Regions from separate parts of the Homo sapiens genome. Here region 2 is linked to region 1. Evidence: promoter capture Hi-C in human tissues and cell types (Jung and others, 2019). All regions are on one chromosome and are shown on one strand. The core of a region is centred on a gene start or on the middle of the fragment in contact, and the rest is flanking DNA. Distances in the headings are between cores, read along the strand shown.

What was found. The method cuts DNA at HindIII sites, captures the fragments that hold promoters and counts their contacts. A contact is called where the count stands out against the background at its distance.
Region 2: a contact is called between a fragment that was not itself captured here and the fragment with the promoter of MRPL42 in region 1, in 1 of the 25 tissues and cell types used here (bladder).

The regions. Positions count from the first base shown.
Region 1 is chr12:93,464,297-93,470,651 of GRCh38, forward strand. MRPL42 (mitochondrial ribosomal protein L42) reads left to right here and starts at 3,218. Exons shown (of 6, transcript NM_014050.4): 1 at 3,218-3,258; 2 at 4,896-5,059. The coding sequence starts at 4,990. RefSeq lists enhancers at 3,050-3,109, 3,170-3,439. The HindIII fragment of the contact is 7,004 bases long and covers 1-6,355 here.
Region 2 is chr12:94,470,144-94,475,733 of GRCh38, forward strand. LOC102724960 (a long non-coding RNA gene) reads left to right here and starts at 2,174. Exons shown (of 3, transcript XR_945224.3): 1 at 2,174-2,292; 2 at 3,374-3,468. The HindIII fragment of the contact is 7,278 bases long and covers 1-5,590 here.

The DNA.
Region 1 (6,355 bases), core at 1,968-4,467:
TCCATCTGATTTCTAAGCCTTCGAATTCCCTGGGGCCAGCTTCTAGGCCCTTTATCTTTTTTTTTCTATACCTAGTCCAACCTCTACTCTCCAAACACACCTCTTCAAGTACCTGCCTTTTGTTTTTTGTTTTTTTGGAGATGGGGCTCTCACTCTGTTACTCAGGCTGGAGTGCAGTGGCATGACCATAGCTCACTGCAGCCTCAACCTCCAGGGCTCAAACGATCCTCCTACCTCAGCCTCCTTAGTAGCTGGGATCACAGGTGTGCATCATCAACCTTACTAATTCTGTTTATTTTTTGTAGAGACAAGGCCTCACTCACTATATTGCCCAGGCTGCTGACTTGTTTTGTATCTCCACTGGAGTGTCTCAGAGCCATCTCAAACTCAACAACTCCCAAACGGAAGTATGCATTTCCACCATCATCAGACTCCCCAAACCTGTTCCTCTTTCAGTCTTCCTTGTCTTATGAAGGGCACCACTGTCAACTAGTCATCAAAGCATCACCTGAAGTATCTTCCTCCCTCTCAATCAATCCATCAGCAAGTTAAGTCATCACTTCCAATTTCAAAATACATCTGGACTCTTCCTGTCTCTCCATCTCCACTGCCACCACCCTCCATCACATGATTTCTTGACTGCAGTACTGCAGTAGCTTCCTTGCTAGACTTGCCTGCGGTCTTGCCACTCTCCAAACCACTCCTCCCAGGGCAGCCAGAGTAACCTTTTAAAAATGGAAATCAAATTATGTCACTTCTTTCATGTAAAAATCTCAAGAGACAGGGCTCACTCTGTCACCCAGGCTGGAGTGCACGGCACGATCATAGCTTACTACCGCCTTGACCTCCTGGGCTCAAGCAATCCTCCCACTTCAGCCTCCCATTCCCAGGGTAACTAGGACTACAGGCACACAGCACCACCTACTCTATTTAATCTCTACATATGTCCTGTGTCCTAACTCCATGTTAACCCCTCCAAGGCTTATGAAGCCCAACATGACCTGGCTCCAAATCTCATCTCCTGCCGCTCTCATCCACACTATCCACCCTACTCCAGTATATGGTAAGCTATTTCCACCACATTAAACCTTTGTGTAAGTTGTTCCCTCACTCAGCCTAAACCTGTCTCTCCCCTCTCTTCCCCCAAAAATGTTGGTTTCTTTTCTGGTCTCAGCTTTGTGAGACCTTCCTTGGTCCCACTAAGTGAGTCTCCCTGTTGGGGACTGGTCCCACTCTGCTCACAGCCATCAAGACTTGACCTCTGGAATTATCTTTGATCCATTCTTCTTACACTTTACGCAGGGAATGTTCAACCAGTCCAGTTGACTGCTCATTCAAATCTGTTTCTCCTCTCTGTCCCTTCCTATTGCACAGTCCAGAAAGACATCATGGGTGGCTTTGGAGGATGGACACGACTGGAAAGGACACAGATGGGCCCTCTGTGGGCTTCTATAAGAGCAAAGATTAGCCTCCTGATATTCCGTGGGAAATGAGGAGACACACTACACAGCCCGTATTTAGTTTTCTTTACTATGTGATGTGTGTTCACTTACTTTCAATACTAGTCACTTCAGGAATATGGTTCTTAACTTGTTGAGGGGTTTATCAATTCCCTGGAATACATAATAAAAGCTATAGATTATTTCTTAGAAAAATATACAAAAGCAAAATTTTGCAAATCATGGGAGAAGGGAATTTCCAGGCGACCGCTTCTGCTTTACCAGCCAATCATCTACTGTCTTGGATACTTGCAGCGTTATCTAGTCTTTTCATTCATTCAGCAAACACTTCCTGGAGACCTATAATGAGACCAAGCACAGTCTGAGATGCTGGGTTTGCATACAGTGAAGAACAAGATAGACATATGTCTCTGTCTTCAAGGAGCTTACATTATCCAGCATAAGAGACATTAAACGAGGTTGGGTGTGGTGGCTCACGCCTGTAATCCAGCCCTTTGAGAGGCCGAGGTGGGCATATCACCTGAGGTAAGGAGTTCGAGATCAGCCGGGCAAACATGGCGAAACCCCATCTCTACTAAAAATACAGAAATTAGCTGGGCGTGGTGGTGGCCACCTGTAATCCCAGCTAATTAGGAAGCTGAGGCAGGAGAATCGCTTGAAGCTGAGAGGCGGAGGTTGCAGTGAGCTGAGATCATGCCACTGCACTCCGGCCTGGGCGATAGAGCAAGACTCCGTCTCAAAAAAAAAAAAAAAAAGAAAGAGACATTCAACGAGCAAACAAATAATCAATATAAAGTCAGGTAATGGTAAATATTCTGAAGGAAAATAAAGCGGGGCATGGAATAAGGGTGGGTGAGGCTATTTTAATGGTGTGGTCCTTTCTAAGATGATATTTGAGAAAGACCTGTAAGGTCATGAGAAGAGGTCAGAGAAGCACATTGCTGGCAATGGGAACAGAGAGTGCAAAGGCCCAGAGGTCTTTCCTTCCTCCTAAGATGGAAAGCGAGGTCCAAGATTCTGCATATTTACTTCCTCCCATAATAGGTAGCCAGCACAGTTCTGAGGGCACAGTGCCAGGTTTTCAGAGTGGAGGTTCTCTTCAGGTTCTGATTTCAAACGTCCAAATCCTAGCCTCCACATTTCAGGGCTTCTCTGGAATGTCTCTTCCCCTGGGAAACTTTAACTCATCTACTAAAGAGCAATCTACGATTTCTCTGAATATTAACATAATTTTTTTAAAAAGTACTTATAGGTTTGCATGGTGGCTCATGCCTGTAATTCCAGCACTTTGGGACGCCGAGGCAGGAGGATTGCTTGAGACAAGCCTGGGCAACATACCGAGACCTCGTCTCTACAAAAATATTAAAAAATTAGCTGGGTGTGGTGGTGTGCGCCTGTAGTACCAGCTACTCAGGAGGCTGAGGTGGGAGGCTCTCTTGGGCCCAGGAGGTAGAGGCTGCAGTGAGCCGTGAGGGAGCCATTGCACTCCAGTCTGGGTGACAGAATGAGACTGCCTCACAAAAAAAAAAAAAAAAAAAAGCTTGTTACTTTCTAAGGGTATGTGTTTGGGGCAGTGATTTTGTTTTTCTGGGCACCTTAGTAACACTGCGGCCACGCTTCCCCAACTAAAGGTAAAAGTCCATAGCAACAATCCTCCCTTTCTCTCTGCACCCGGGCCGCTTTCCCGCGGAGACTACATTTCCCAGAATGCCCCGCGGGCTGGGACGGCGCGCGCAGCGCTGTTTCGTGGGACCAGGATTGAAACAAGATGGCGGGTTCGTGGTGAGAAGCCGTCAAGGTAACCGCTTCCCTCTACTCCTCCTGTCGAGGACTTCCTCGAAACTGGGCAGTCCCACAGTGTTGGTCGGCAGTTGTAGAGGTCTCCCGCCTGTCGTTCCCGGCAGGGCGAGGTTGCCTGCATCCCCAGCCTTTGTCCTTCCTGCAGAAGAGCCGGCATGTGGCTGCGCGTTTCTTATAGCGCCCCCTTTGTTCCCTGGCGGACGCCCGTGGGGAGGTGATGCAGCTTGTGGCTCTAGGGACTCCTTTAGGTCGAAGAGTTCTGGTGCTCTTGGTAGCCTGTTCCTCAAACCTCTGACCCTCAGAGGCTCTGTAGCTTTTGTTTTGGGGTTGAATTCCGGGCTGAGGGACTTGATCTCTGAAATGATCTTCCTGGGGTGAATAATCTGACTCCCAGCAGGGCGTGCTTTTCTCTGGGCTTCGGACAGAGGGGACCTAATTTCCCCCAAGATGTTTTATTCGTGGTCAGAAGTCATGGGTTTACGTCCCACGCATGTATTAAGCAGCGATATACTGAGCAAGTAATCGATTGACCTCTCTGAGCCTTTGTTCTTAATCTGAAATGGAGATGCTGCTTCACACACTTGTGAAAGTCAGAGCACATATTGTATATGAAAGTGGGTTGTAAACTAAAAAGCACACCTATGAGCTCAGGGTTAACGGTGTTAATGTACTGGCAGTGCAAGGTATCAGTGTGAGTGGTTTAGACTAGCAAATAAGAGGGCCTGTGTCCTAATTCTCTTTTATCACTATTGGGGGGAAGGGCACGGATACTCATTGAAGACTATTAAAAACAAGATTTAACAATGGTTATTTGTCATTTATTCACAACAGGCCATGAAGATTGTGGTTTTCCCCATTTTGTCATTGGAGAAACTGAGGATCGTTTAGTTAATGACTTGTTTAAAGTTTCCCAATTTGGCAGTGACTGACTCTAAAGTCCTTGGAAGCAAGACGTTTAAATTTTGTACTTTAGTTTCTTCATGAATCAGAATAAAGATACCTCACATGATTAATACGAGAGCAAAATGAAATGGTGGTGAAAGTACGTTGGAAAGTTAAAGACTTTGTACACATATAAGATGGTGAAATTTTATCTGGGACTTGAGGGCATTTATGAGTTCCTCCAATTGAGTAATAGGCTAAGGATAGGCCTTGTTTGATATTTCTTTATTATTATTATTATTATTAATGGCTCAGGGCAGACAACTATTTCATTTAATCAGAAACAGGATAGTACTGTAAATGATGTAGTATCTTGTGTATGGAACCTTGGAGGGTGTACACAGCCACACTAGCATTAAAAGAATGAATACTCTGTGTACCATTTGTGAGTGACTGTTTCAAGAGTAATTACACATTTACTGAGTATTCATTAAGTGGAAGGAGCTGCACTGGGTCCTGCAGAGAAGTTTGTATCTAAGATAAATAGTAATGGACATAGTTCCAGTGGTTCTGATCTTATATTCTGTCCATGTCGCTCTTCGTCCTGTTGTTCAATCATGTGGAATTGCCAAGTTGTTTAAAAGCATTGCTTCAGTTGACTTCTAGGCAGTGATTCTTACCTTGTTCTTGTGGTGTTTAATATAACTTAAATTTACCATAGGTAGCACTGATTTTTCTTTATCTCTTCAGCAGGAGTAGAAATTGGTATGCTTAGAAGCAGATTCTAAAAGCAGTTTCTCTTCAGAACATCTTTTTTCATACCACTTGATAAGCATCTTGAAACACCATGGCTGTAGCTGCAGTAAAATGGGTGATGTCAAAGAGAACTATCTTGAAACATTTATTTCCAGTCCAAAGTAAGTGAAATTTTTTTTAATGTTTAAAAACTTTTAAACTTTTAAGAATTAAGAAAATTTAAAGCATTTAGTTATTGTATATGCCTGTAATTTGCAGGAGTGTTTGCAGCAATGGAAAGTGGGAGAAAACCTAAATGTCAGTCAGAAGGGGAATGGATAGGTCAGATGTGGTGTCTCATGCCTGTAATCCCAGCACTTTGGGAGGCTGAGGTGGGAGGATTGCTTGAGGCCAGGGGTTTGAGACCAGCCTGGGCAACATAGCAAGACCCCCACCTCTAAAAAAAAATGTGGGTTGGGGAGGGGAATGGATAAATTATGGTACATCTGAACTGTGACTGTCATGTAGCTGTTACTGACATGGAAAGATCTCCAAATAGAAACAAAAAAAGCATGTCAGAACCACATCTATATATATCTATCATATGATCTTATTTGTATGTTTAAAAGATGATCCATCATATGCATGTGTGCATATGCATAAATGCAGAGGTAAAAGGTCTGGACCAAACAGTGGTTATCTGTGTAGCCCACTCTTGGGATTTGGCTGAGGGCAGGAGTAAGGGACTGGTCAAGGGTAACTTTCTCTTGTTCGATTACATGTATTACTTTTTTAGTATTTCTCTCTTTTTTTTTTTTTTAACGGAGTCTGGCTCTGTCGCCCAGGCTGGAGTGCAGTGGCGTGATTACTTTTTTAGTATTTCTTAAAATGTGCGAATAAAGGGTAAATTCACAGTCCCATCTTCCAAAGATAATCATTGTTAATATTTTGGTGGATTGTCATTGTGTTTTTTCTATGTACCTAGCCATTTTTAAAAAAATGAAATGTAATTTCTGCCTTTCTTTTCTAAAGAACTGTATATAGTTAGTATTTTCTCGAAAGCTTGTTAATACATGTTTGACAGTCAAAGCATGGACCCAAATAAGTAAATAGAGTATTAAAGTCTTTTTTCTCAGCCAACTGTGCTTTCTTTTTCCTTTTCCTGTCTGTAAACAGAGTTTATAGCTCTTATAAACAGCTCTTATAGGAAGCTTTCCATTTCTAAAGTAGACATGTATAGAAGGCAACAGTAGGTTTGCCTTTTTATATTAAACTATGTGAGCCAACTTTTTATTTTTATTTTTTATTTTAGATTCGGGCGTACATGTGCAGGTTTGTTACGTGGATGTATTACATATACTGAGGTTTGGGCTTCAACTGAACCCGTCACCCAAATAGTGAACATAGTACCCAATAGGTAGTTTTTCAACTCTTCCCTCCATCCCTCCATTCTGTTTTGAGTCCCCAGTGTTTATTGT
Region 2 (5,590 bases), core at 1,283-3,782, 1.0 Mb after region 1:
ACTTCATTTCACAGACATTCCAAGGTGCTGAAATAAAGTGTAGTAGCCCAAACATTAACAAAGATGTGAAACAGCTGGAACTTACACATTGCTGATGTGAGTGTAAAATACTTTGGAAAAGTACTTGGCAATTTCTTTTCATTGTACTTTCATCTACCTTATTCATGGCTCATCAATTTCACTTAGTTACCCAAGAGACACGAAAATGCAACTTCACAAGAAAACTTACACAAAGAATGTTTAGAGCAACCTTATTCATAATAACCAAAAACTAATAACCTAAATGTATATCAACAGGAAAACAGATACAATTTAAAAATGATATATATTCTTACAACGGAATACAACTCAGCAATACAAAGGAACAAACTGCTGGTATACCTGACAACATGAGTAAGTCTCACAAATATTTTGATAAACAGAAGAAGCCAGGCACAACAGAATACAAACCGTATTGTTCTATTTGCATGAAATCCAAGAAAGACCATCTAGTTTTAGAAATTTCTAAGTGGTTATAGGGGACAGTGATTGAAAGGAGTCCAAGGGAACTTTCTAAGATGATAGATTATATTTTGTTTCAAGTGGTAATTACACAGGATATACAGTTGTCAAAATTCATCAAATTGAGTAAGATATGTGTATTTTATTCTGTTAATTATACCACCATAAAACATATTTTAAAGTGCTAATAGAAATACTTTTCTATTCACTGAAATACTAATGTTTGCTAGCAAGAGAACTCTTTTCCTTATATCAAGATAACCCAAGAAATCAGACTAGTAATCAGAAAGTTGGTGCACTCATACTCGGAGCAAGGGAAAGGTCCTAGGGATAAATCCAAACTGCAAAAAAATTTAATCAGCTCTCAAACAATAACAAATGGGTTACTCTACTATGGCAGATAAATGAAATAAATAATTGCTATGAATTAAGGACTTCAATATTGTGAAGCTAACAAAATTTGTATTACAGGTAAATGGAATAATAGGGTTTTTAGGAACCCAATAAGGAAATTATCATACAAGTGTAATTTTAATTTTTTATTTCACTGTACTTCAATGTATACAAACAAGTTTCAGGGTGTTTTTTTTTGTTTTTTGGTTTTTTGGTTTTTTTTTTGAGACAGAGTCTCGCTCTGTTGCCCAGGCTGGAGTGCAGTGGTGTGATCTCGGCTCACTACAACCTCTGCCTCCAGAGTTCAAGCGATTCTCCTGCCTCAGCACCCCCCGTAGCTGGGATTACAGGTGCGTACCACCACACCCAGCTAATTTTTTTGTATTTTTAGTAGACATGAGGTTTCACCATGTTGGCCAGGCTGCTCTCGATCACTTGACCTCATGATCCATCCGCCTCGGCCTCCCAAAGTAAGTTTAAGCTTTAAATGAAAAAAAGTACGGACATTTGGAGTATTTGTGCAAGAAACAGAATGCTTTAGGATAAGGAATTCTTATAAACGGTAGGCATTCCAGTATTGCATTTCCTTTAATACTTTGTTGCCAGAGCCAGAAATAATGTAAGAAGAATAAGCTTGTATTTCAGAATGTCAAGGAAAAAAAGCTATATGTCATATGGCTTGGTGGTAGACAAACCTATTTTTGTCTTAAAATTTCATATACCTTCTCCTTTAATTATCTCTTCTTTCCTCCTTTCCTTTTTCTTTTTCATCATTCTACTTTTATTTTCTTTCCTTCTCTTTCATCTTCTTTCTTTTTCTCTCCTTTTTTCTTCTTCTAGACCGTATTTCTTAGCCTTGTTTTCATAATTGATCCCCTAAGCAGCCATTTTAGACACCACTTTCCTCATTGCTCCTCCCACCCCCATGAAATCTTAAATCACAGATATACTGTATGTCTGTTTATGTACTGTGGCTCTTTGGAGGGCCAAGGACCATTGTAATATCTAAGGTTTTTTGCCCCCTTGAGGGGTGATATCTCCCCATTAAAAATAACATGTTCCAACTAATGAGTTCTTTGAGGGGAAGGATCATGTCCTGTTTACCATTGTATGCCTTGTGCTTAATATAATGCTTGGCACACAGTAGGCAATCAGTAAATAAATGTATTAGATGAATATTTATTGAATTAAAGTGAAAATGGTCTCTGCTGTAAACTCATCAAACAACTAAACAGCTAAAATTCTTGAATCTTTTTTAGACAATACTGTCTACTACTTATACTCCACAGTACCTCCGCATTTGAAGATTGTCTTCCTGAGACTATATCCATGTGACTTGATGGAATCTTGGAAAGCACCTTGATCACAAAAGTAATAAATTCAAAGCCAAGTCCAAGGGTGAGTTACTTATACAGATGGCTAATTTTATCTACCATATACTGATTTTTTTTCCTAGCATCACTTTCAGAAGGTGATCATTTCCTAAATTTTTCTCTGAATTGAGGCTTGCAGCCTCTTTGATACTTACAACTCACTATTCAAAACTTATCAGTTCCAGTTGACGTGCAAGAATTGGATTAGGGAATGAGTAGAAGGTGACGGCACTATAGGAAAGGAGAAAATAAATAGAGGAAGTCATTAAACTTCTCTGTTCCTTAATTTTTCTTTATCTGTAAGACCTCTTCTAGCTCTAAAATTTGTGATCTTGATTTATTCTCTGAGTGAGTGGTTCTCAATAGAAACATTTTATTAAAGAAATCAGTGGAGGGTGTCATCAGTTGCCTCAAGATTGGAAGGACAGTGCTGCCAGCCTTTGTGGGAGAGGCCAGGGATGCTAGACATCCTACTGTAAATGGGACTTTGGTCAGTTCAGGTCCACAGAGAAGCAGACACCAAGACAGACATAGAAGAGATGGATTGGGGGAAATGGCTGTAGGGAAGAGGAAGCAGTTAGCAGGCAGAGTTTGAGACTGGGATGCAGATCTGACACCCATGTCAATGTCATGAGAAGAGGGAGGTGGATTCAGTAGGAACAGCCTTAGATTATAATAACAGCTCTAGGAATGTCTTGGCCAGGCCAATAGGGAGCCACAGAGCAAAGACTGACCATTTGAGGGGGTTCCAATTTGACCAGATGTGGCCTGGCTCTATTACCCCTGCTGTGCTCAGCCATTGAGGAAGTTTGGGTAGGGTAAGGCCAAATCATAAATGCCATGATGAATCTCCAAGGAATAATACTAGAAGACTGTCAGCTAGCTACAGTCCTCACAGCAGGTTCTCTCTCTCTCTCTCTTTCTCTCTCTCTCCATCTCTCTCTCTTTCTCTTTAAAGCAAAACAAAAATGATACTTTACTGAGATACTTTTGCTTGTAAAGCAGGAGAACAAGATGATATACATAAGTCATAACATGTCAAGACATGCCAAGGTGATGATTTTGATGTTTTCTTTATCTTTTTCTTTTATCTTTTTTTAATCCAGGTTAAAGTTGGACACAAAATGAGAAGTTTGGGGAGATAAGGCTTGGGAGTTGAGATCCTGCATGGAAAACAAGATGAATTAACTTCCCAGGCTGCGTAAGTGTTCACATTTTGTATCGAATTATAGCAGATTTGTTTCTTCTTTTGACCTCAAAAACCGTTTGGAAACCTTAGGGAAACTTCATGGCATCTTTTCCATTTTGCTGATGGTTGTCAGGAGGGATAGCACCAGACCTTAACAGAGGTGGCTTCACCTTGCCTAGAGCATCAATAATCTTATCACAGATTCACCCCTGTTCTTTCTCGTTTAGACTCTGAGGGTCCCACTTCATTGTCAATTTCATTTGCAGTCACAGGTTTAGCATAACAGCTAACCTTATTTTTAGTTGATGATCTGGAACCCTTCACCTGACTTACAGGCAAACTCTTGTGTATTTTTTGTTAGAAAATCTTCATATCGCCATTAGCAAATGCTGTACTAGTTTGATTACTTGGCCATTAGCTGCTTCTCAATAGGCCAGGTTGGGAGGCATTTTCTTGGCATTTTTGTTTTGTATCTTGAGTTTTGGAGGTGAATCACTGCCATTTTTAATGGATGCTGGAGGCATTTTGTCAAAGGATTCCTTTTTGGTTCCTTCATCTTTGTCATCTGCTTCATCTTCATCAGTATTATTTCCTGATATTTCTGTAACTTTAGAAGCATTTTCATCTATATTGTCTTCTTCATGGTTTCCTCAACTCTATTTTTCCTTTCTAGTCCTTCCAGCAGGTTCTCTGTTGAACCTCTCATGTTCTGGGAGTAGCTTTTCTGATTCCTCTGGACCTCACTTCTTGAGGGAAAACTTAGACAAAGGGGGTTATTGGGACAAACCATAATCCCTGTCACTCAGTTGGTTTCAAAGCTGCAACTGCTACTTATCTTCCTCTTCCATACCAATTTCAAGTTCTCCTCTCCTTCAGCAGTCACTTCCACAGATCTTAGTGGTGTAACCTGGGTGTGACCCAAATCCTCATTCCTGATGAGAAATATATATTTATTGGCAATTACACATACCTCATGTGATTGTTGTACATGTCCTTCCACAGTTACAAGTAAGTCTCAAAAGACTCCCAAGTGGATCACCTAGGGGCTACATATTTTTCTCTGCCCATTGTGTAAAAGAAGCCCTTCTGCTTCCTGTTGATCTAGGTCAGTTACCCCTGCCAAGATGGGGATTCCTCTTCCTGCCTGCTGGCACCTTGACACAAAGGGTCCAAAATGCCCAAACAGTTGCCATAGCTTGTAGTTCAGTGGGACCTTCCTTGCATTTCCTGGCAAGAATTCACCCCACTTTGGGGACCAGGACTTCTAAACCTTCAAAACCCAGAGTTGCAGGAACAGAAAGCACAAAGTTCCCCGATGAGTCGTTTGGGTGGATGGTAAGTAGGGCCACTTCTTCTTCCTCTGCCTTTTTCCTGGACCCATGTATTCTTCCTATTAGGGACAGTGCCTTTAGAGCTCCCTGATTTAGTATATATACTGATCTTGAAAAGTGGCACTCTGTTCTTGCAGAATATTGCCTCCAAATCGGCACTCCAGCTGCACCTTCAGTAGGTTGCCCAGTGCTCTATCAGGCTGGCTGCTCCAGATGGTGCAGTATGTGATAAAACCAGTAGATCCCTTAGTCATTAGTTCATACTCATACCACCTTTACTATGAAATGGATCCCCTGTTTGGATCCTGTGTTGAGTTGGATACTATACCTGTGGATCAGGCCTTCTTTAAGCCTCTAGATAGTGGTATGGGCTGTGGCTCTGAAGCCAAGAAAGGCAAACCCATACCCAGAATAAATATGTATCCCTGTAAGGATAAACTGCTGGCCACTCCAGAATGGAAAGGGCACAGTGTTGTTGACTTGCCACCAAGTGGCTGGTTTATCTTCTCAAGTAATAATGCCATATCAGGGACTCAGGGTTGGTCTCTGTTGCTGGCAAATTAGACCTTCAGAGACAAGTAGGTATATTGGCCTTGGTAAGTAGGAATTCATGCTCTTGGGCTCATGTGTAGCCTTCATCTCTGCACTCACAGTAGGCAGACTTACATGTTGCCTACATGTGAACCAAAGCAGTATTCCTAGGTATGGAATTCATTGCTTCCAGAACCCAAAAAGGCCCACCAGGCATTGGGCTTCATTATAGTAGGAGATGCAAGATGCAGAAATTTGCCTTTTATCCTGGA